2 separate regions of the Homo sapiens genome follow, and region 1 is linked to region 2. Evidence: promoter capture Hi-C in 16 types of primary human blood cells and fetal thymus (Javierre and others, 2016). All regions are on one chromosome and are shown on one strand. Each heading gives the region's core, a stretch centred on a gene start or on the middle of the fragment in contact. The rest is flanking DNA. Distances are from core to core; before and after follow the strand shown. Region 1 overlaps DAD1 (defender against cell death 1). Region 2 holds the start of C14orf119 (chromosome 14 open reading frame 119).

What was found. Contacts are between HindIII fragments. The CHiCAGO score rates a contact against its expected background, and 5 or more counts as called.
Region 1: a fragment that was not itself captured here is called in contact with the fragment with the promoter of C14orf119 in region 2 in 1 of 17 cell types (neutrophils); the score reaches 5.7 in neutrophils.

Annotation. Positions count from the first base shown.
Region 1 is chr14:22,578,271-22,582,211 of GRCh38, reverse strand. The region is part of intron 1 of DAD1 (defender against cell death 1); the gene reads left to right. Among named protein-coding and RNA genes, the nearest start is that of DAD1, 9.0 kb to the left of the region's middle. RefSeq lists a silencer at 1,793-1,955. The HindIII fragment of the contact is 2,195 bases long and covers 1,405-3,599 here.
Region 2 is chr14:23,093,425-23,097,082 of GRCh38, reverse strand. It overlaps C14orf119 (chromosome 14 open reading frame 119), which reads right to left and starts at 1,578. Exons shown (of 2, transcript NM_017924.4): 1 at 1,464-1,578. ACIN1 (apoptotic chromatin condensation inducer 1) reads left to right here and starts at 1,947. Exons shown (of 19, transcript NM_001386863.1): 1 at 1,947-2,108; 2 at 3,539-3,604. The coding sequence starts at 1,971. RefSeq lists enhancers at 1,144-1,667, 1,547-1,756, 1,777-1,856, 1,668-2,191, 1,897-2,206. The HindIII fragment of the contact is 5,470 bases long and covers 1-1,712 here.

The DNA.
Region 1 (3,941 bases), core at 1,253-3,752, 520 kb after region 2:
TTTTTTGAGACGCAGTCTCACTGTGTCGCCAGGCTGGAGTGCAGTGGCGCGATCTCAGCTCACTGCAACCTCCGCCCTTGGAGTTCAAGCGATTCTTCTGCCTCAGCCTCCCTAGTAGCTGGGATTCCAGGAGCCTGCCACTGCACCCGGCTAATTTTTTGTATTTTATTTTTAGTAGAGATGGGGTTTCACCTTCTTGACCAGGCTGGTCTTGAATTCCTGACCTTGTGATCCACCCACCTCGGCCTCCCAAAGTGCTGGGATTACAGGCGTGAGCCACTGCGCCCGGCCTTCTGCCTCTTTTTAACCTTGCGAACCATTATACTGTTCCACCGCTCTTATAACTGAATCCGTACTGTTTTCTGAGGCTTACCATGCCCCTCAGGATTTGGCCCTTGTGTCCTTCCCCTTGATCACTATAGTCTTGTTGGTCTGTCCTTGATTTTTTTTTTTTTTTTTTTTTTTTTTGAGATGGAGTTTTGCTCTTGTTGCCCAGGCTGGAGTGCAATGGCACGATCTCGGCTTACTGCAACTTCCGCCTCCCGGGTTCAAGCGGTTCTTCTGCCTCAGCCTCCTGAGTAGCTGGGATTGCAGGCATGCACCACCAAGCCTGGCTAATTTTTTGTATTTTTAGTAGAGACGGGGTTTCTCCATGTTGGTCAGGCTGGTCTCGAACTCCCGACCTCAGGTTATCCACCCGCCTCGACCTCCCAAAGTGCTGGGATTACGGGTGTGAGCCACCATGCCTGGCGTCTGTCCTTGTGTTTATAACATGTCAAGATTGTTCTTACTGTCTAGAATGCTCTGCCCCCAGATTTTTACATGGTTGGTTCCTTATCTTTCAAATATTGGTCTTAAATAGCAAGCTCTTAAAGAGACCTTCTGTTATGATTGAATTTAAGAAAAGCTTCCCAGTCACTCTTTATTATCCTGTTTTATTTTCTTCATAGTACATATCTCTACCTAGTAGTTCCTGGTTTATTTGTTAACTTATTGATTATATGTTTCTCTCCATAGGAGTGTAAGTTCCTTGAGAGCCAGACTGTTTTGTTCTGTGCCATATTCCTAGCACCTGAAATGATGCTTGTCATGTAGTAGATGTTTAGTAAATATTTTATGGAATAAATGGACATTTAAGGGGATAGAGTAAATCAGAATTGCTAAAATGGAACAGACTGCTTGAAGAGGTAGTAAATTTCCATCTTTGGAAGTGCCCAGGGAGAGACTGAAGGATCATTGGTAGTGGAGCATTTTGAACAGGCTTTTTTTTTTGCCTTTTTTGTTTCCAATGCATCTGAGAGATGTGATATCCTTATCAGTAACACAGGCTCTGGAAAGTTGATAATTCTCCATCTGGAGGTGGCTTACCAGATTCTGTAAGTGGTGAGTATACTTTGGAAAGCTTCCCACGTGATTAGTACGCCTCCCCAAGCATGGCCACCCCCTACCACCTCTTGGGCATTGTATACATCAAATGGGGTGTTGGTGTTTATGACCTCTGAGGTCCTTTCCAACTTTGTGGGACTCTGATTCATATGTTTTCATTGAAATAATCTGGTTACCATGATCACAATAATAATAACATCAATTTATTACCTTATCCACCTTCATGGATAATTTTTCTTTTTTTCCCTCATATTTCCTCAAAACTCAACACCGTGTTCTTTACTCCAATGACCACTATTAATAGTTTTCTATTTCTTCAGATTTTTTTCTAGATTCTAACTGAAATGACAAGATAATTATGTATATCATTATATGTAAATAAAATATTTTACTTTTTTTTTGAGACGGTCTTGATTTGTCTCCCAGGCCAGAGTGCGGTGGCATGACTGTGGCTCACTGCAGCCTGCAACCTCTACCTCCTGGGCTCAAGCAATCTTCCCATCTCAGCCTCCCGAGTAGCTGGGGCCATAGGTGTGTGCTACCACACCTGGCTAATTAAAACATTTTTTTTGTAGAGACAGGGTCTCCCTATCTTTCCCAGGCTGGTCTCAAGCTCTTGGGCTCAAGCGATCCTCCCACCTTGGTTTCACAACATGCTGGGGTTACAGTTGTGAGCCACCATGCCCTGGCCAAGTGAAATTAGGAATGGGCTGGGTGTGGGGGCTCATGTCTGTAATCCCTACCCTTAGGCAAGCAGAGGCGGGAGGATTGCTGGGCAACATAGGGAGACCTTGTCTTTACCAAAAACAAACAAAAAAATTAGCTAGGCATGGTGGTGCATGACTGTTGTCTCAGCTACTCAGGGGGCTGAGGTGGGAGGATTGTTTGAGCCCAGGAGGTCGAGGCTGCAGGGAGCCATGATTGCACCACTGCACTCCAGCCTGGGTGATGGAGTGAGACCCTGTCTCAAAAAAAAAAAAAAAAAGGATTGGCTTTTTTTCACTTAATAAGTCTTAGATATGTTTGCTGTCAATGTACAGAGAATTTACCTTATTCTTTTGAATAATTGCATGGGATTTCATTGCATGTCAGTTGTATAGTTTAATCCCCTTGATGTTTAGACTGTTTTAATTTTTTTTTCAACTTTACAAACATACTTTCAGAATGTCTTTGTTCTGTAAGATAAATTCCTTTGTCAAAAGGTAAAATCATTTTAAATATTAATGGATATTGCTAGTTGCTCTCCCAAGTGGATGAATGAATCTGTACTTTCTACAGCAGGGGTTTACACTGGTTACCCTTGCTTCAGTCATTGTCTTTAATATTTTTAAGGGTCTGGATACCTGAAAGGATCAATGGTGCTTCCATGGTGTTTACATGTTTAAGCATAATGAAAACTGTTGCCATGGTGACAGGCTCTGGAGAACTAGTCTGATAGTTTTCTGGCCTTTGGATTAGATTTGTTTGTTGCTTTTTCTTAGTTAATGATGGGATGATGCTAGCCTGAAGCGAGTTTAGGTTTTCTTAAGCAATGTAATAATTTATCACAGGCATAAAGATACTTCGGAAGAGTGTATTCCTGGAACTGCCTGTTTTTTTTTTTTTGTCAATGGTGACTGTTAGAATCTTCAAGGGGATGGAGTGTGGCAGTGGAGAGTTCTCATGAGTTATCTCTCTTAGGTCTTCTGCCTTTTTTGAGACAAATAAGCAGCTGCTAGAACTTCGAGATCAAAGATAGTTTATCGAGAACTGTGAGGTTCTCAAGAATGAGCGTGCTATCTTTATAAACTCTGCTACCCATTAAATGAATATTCTATTAGAAAATAATTCACATTTTTATAACTTTTTATCATTCAGCCCGGACCCTTTGTTGTTGCCTCAAGTGCATCCCCATCTAGGTATAATTAGAAACCTTTAAATCAGCAGATAAGAGAGCTTTGTGGGTTTTTTGGTTATATATTTTTTTCTTTGAGAAAGCCTCTAGGTTTCAGTGTAACTCTGAGAAGTAATATTTTTTTTCCTTTAACAGAGTGCGAAATTTAATTGTACAACTTGATAAATTTTTAAATGTACCTGTCTAACCACTATCCAGATCAAGATGCAGGACATTACCAGCACCATAGATGCCTCCTTGCATCTTCCCAGTTATCCTCTCCCTGTGAAAGATAAAAACCACTATCTTGCCATAGATTGGTTTTACCAAGTTTTAAGCTTTTTGTACATGGAATCATATAGCATATACTTTTTTGTTTTGTTTTGTTTTGAGACGGAGTCTCTCTTGCCCAGGCTGGAGTGCAGTGGCGCAATCTCGGCTCACTGCAACCTCCACCTCCTGAGTTTAAGCAAATTCTCCTGCCTCAGCCTCCTGAGTAGCTGGGATTACAGGTGCGTGCCACCATGCCCAGCTAATTTCTGTAGTTTTTATTAGAGATGGGGTTTCCCCATGTTGGCCAGGCTGGTCTTGAACTCCTGACCTTAGGTGATCCACCCACCTTGGCCTCCCAAAGTGCGGGGATTACAGGAGTGAGCCACCGTGCCTGGCCCTTGTTTTATTT
Region 2 (3,658 bases), core at 329-2,828:
TAAAGCACCAGGAAAAGTTAAAAAGCAGAGTAAGGACCTTGCTCAAAATAAGGTAACGCATGAAAGAACCAGAAGCCCGGGTGTTTGAGACGTTCTTAAAAAAGAGTCCAGTTGGTTTGTTGGCTTAGAGATCTAACAAGTGTTATACTATTTTATGACAATCCATGTCTTTAAACAATTGTCCTTAATATTTAGTATGGGCCAGACGCGGTGGTTCTTGCACTTCCAAAGTAATCTCAGCACTTTGAGAGGCCGAGGCAAGAGGATCGCTTGAGCCCAGGTGTTCGAGACCAGCCTGGGCAACATGGCAAAACCTCATCCCTACAAAAAATAAAAAAATTAGTTGAGCGTAGAGGTGCCTACCTGTAGTCCTAGCTACGTAGGAGACTGAGGTAGGAGCATCACCTGAGCCCGGGAGGTTGAGGCTGCAGTGAGCCCTGATCGCGCCACTGCACTCCAGCCTGCGTCAGAGTGGAGGGACCCAGAGTGGAGTGACAAAAAAAAAATTTTTTTTTTTTTTTAGTATGGTATCTATTGGTGCCTTGCAATTTTTTTTTTTTTTTTTTTTTTTTTTGAGACGGAGTCTTGCTCTGTCACCCAGGCTGTAGTGCAATGGCGTGATCTCAACCACTGCTTCCTGGGTTCAAGCGATTCTCCTGCCTCAGCCTCCCGAGTAGCTGGGACTATAGGCGTACGCCACCACGCCCGGCTAATTTGTTTGTATTTTTAGTAGAGACGGGGTTTCACCATATTGGCCAGACTGGTCTCCAACTCCTGACCTCAAGTGATCCGCCCGCCTCGGCCTCCCAAAGTGCTGGGATTATAGGCGTAAGCCACCGCGCCCGGCACCTTGCCACTGATTTTGCATCATGAATGCAACGGAAAGATCAGCCAATTTGACTTTAATAGTTTTCAGTCTCTTAAATCTCTAACGTATCTCTTAAATCTCTAAACTATTTGTCTGTGACCTATTTTACTGTTTGTGTTTCTTCTGCATCAAGTTGGAGGATTGGTAGTGACAAAGAAAGAAGCCCCTAAACAATTAATATTAGTTCAAGTACCAAAAAAGTTCAGGGCGCTTGCATTTTCCAGTTCTTGCCCTACAGGAAGCAGTTCCTCCAAGGGAACTTACTCTCTTCTGCGGAGCAAGGAAGAACTTTCCCAGAATCTTGCCACATGGCTTCCAAGGCAAACTCAAACTCAAGTTCAGCGTCATAGATCAGTTCATAGTCTGGGTCCGAAGACACGGCGATGCTTCTTGCGCACCCCCACGGAGCTTGTTATTCCGATTCCGCACCAGCCCCCCGCCCCTCCCCAAAAAAAGCCTAAGATGGGAGTGGCTATGATTCAGAGGACAGAGGGCAGAAGCTGTTTGCGTTAAGGAGTGGGGGGCTTGCCCTATTAAGGTAATCCGCAAACACCGAGTCTGACCCGGCCCATAGAGGTACTTCTACCCCGCTTACCTCCCCTTTTCTCTCGAAGGGCACCCGAAGATTGTCACGAGTCCTTAGACTCCAACTACTGCGGCAGCTTCCAAATTTCCTGAAAACCCTAAGCTGGGCCAGCCCGGCAGCCCACGCACTTCCGGCCTCGGACCCGCCCCAAACACCCAAGCGCCCCAGCGCCTCATCTCTAGGTCCGGAAATAAACGAACATCTCCGATTATGGTTATACCAGGGTCGAGGGTTTCCGAATATATTCGATTCAAAGCTTCGGCAAGACGAAGAAAACCGAGCCTGAAAGCAGGGCGAGAAAAGGGGCGCTGCAGGGCGGATGGAAAGAATTGATTGGTAACGATGTGGAGACGGAAACATCCGAGGACATCCGGAGGAACCCGGGGAGTTCTGAGTGGTAATCGAGGGGTAGAGTATGGCAGTGGGCGGGGTCATCTCGGTACGTTCGAAGGGCGTTGGCGGAAATTACCGAAGATGCCCGAAGCCGTCGGGACGGACCCGAGTACCTCACGCAAGATGGCGGAGCTGGAGGAGGTGACTCTGGACGGGAAGCCTCTTCAGGCGCTGCGGGTGACCGACCTGAAGGCCGCACTGGAGCAGCGAGGCCTAGCCAAGAGCGGGCAGAAGAGTGCCCTGGTCAAGCGGCTCAAAGGGGTGAGGAGTCGGCGTTGCTGGGGTGTCGGAGGAGAGCGGACCCGGTAGAGACGAGCCTCTGCCGCGGCGCAGGCGCAGTATCCGGGCTCGGCGCGAGCTCGCTCAGGCCGCCAGCGCGAGCCTCTGGATCCGCGCGCACGGTGGTTGATGAGGTTCGCGCTGGAATGGAGATCGCGCCGGTTCCCGCCTTAACGGCAGCAGCGCGAGCCCAAATGGGAGGGTGTGCACTACTCTCCAGGAGTGTCTTAAGCTCCTTCCTCCTTCCCCCACCCCCTCCTTGTTTGTATCTGTGGTTTCGGCGCATGCGCTGCAGAAGGAGTTAAATCCCACTACAACCTACGGCGTTGCTGGCCTGAGGGGGGCGAGTTGGGCTGGGTCGGAGTTAGGGGTATAGTTGCGCGAAGGGGTGGATGGGGTTGGTATCGGTATCTGCACGAATAGGACTGGGGTAGGGTAAAATGTCTGCTCGATTAGATGAGGAGGTGAGATGAAGAGAGACCTTTATTTGAAGGGACTTGATGAGAGAGAGGTCTCTAATTTAGTGGCATCTAGTGGCAATTTGGGTGGTTAAGAGTTTGGTGAATATTGGTGAGAGAGGCGAGGCAGGTTGATATATATTGGGGATTTTGAATCGGTTTGAGTAGATTAAGGTGGGATTGTCATGAGGTAGGTGTAGCTCGATTCAAGTGTATAGGTTTGGTTTAAAGAAGGGAAGATGAGGATGTCTTGGTTTTAATTAGAGTTCAACAGGATACGTGGCAGGTAGTGCAGATTAGGTCTGGGTTGGCTCCAGGGTTGAGTTGGCAGACCGTTGCTTATACAGAAGCTGATAGTTTTGTGTGTGTGTGTTTGTGTGTGTGTGTTTGTGTGGATAGACTAGGTTAGACCACAGTTTACAGGGTCTGTGGTCATTTTCTTCTGTAGCTTCCTCTTTGAAAATTTTATAAATTTGATAAATCTAGGTGCCACAGTACTGGAAATTATACAAATTGACCCTGGTACTGGGTAACCCTTTGACCAAGTAATTCCGTCAGGCAAAAACCAGGAGCCCCATGGCTGGTTTGAGTATTTTAAGTAATTTTACATGCATGATCAGATTTAGAAGGGGCACTTGGCGAAAGTGCAGAAGATAATAGGGATTTTAGTACTGGTTCTATTACTGATATTATGACATAGCCAGGTCACTGATTCTGTGTGCCTGCATTTTATATCTGTACATTTAGTAACAGTAACCATGGCTACCTTTATGGGTCTTCTGAAGATGAATGAGAACAGTGTTAGTAAAGGGTTTTCAGGTCCCTGGAAAAGGAATACAGTTTAATTGTGTGTATTTAAGTCATTGCGTTTAATTTAGAGGTTGTGGTAGAGGTGGGGGTTTGTTTTTCTTTTTTTTCCTCATCATTTCTGACTTTTACCCTTCTCTATACCAGGCTCTAATGCTAGAAAATTTACAGAAACACTCAACACCCCATGCTGCATTCCAGCCAAATTCCCAGGTGAGAAAGAAGGTGTATTCAATGGAGTGGGCCCTTTGGATATCCAGACACATG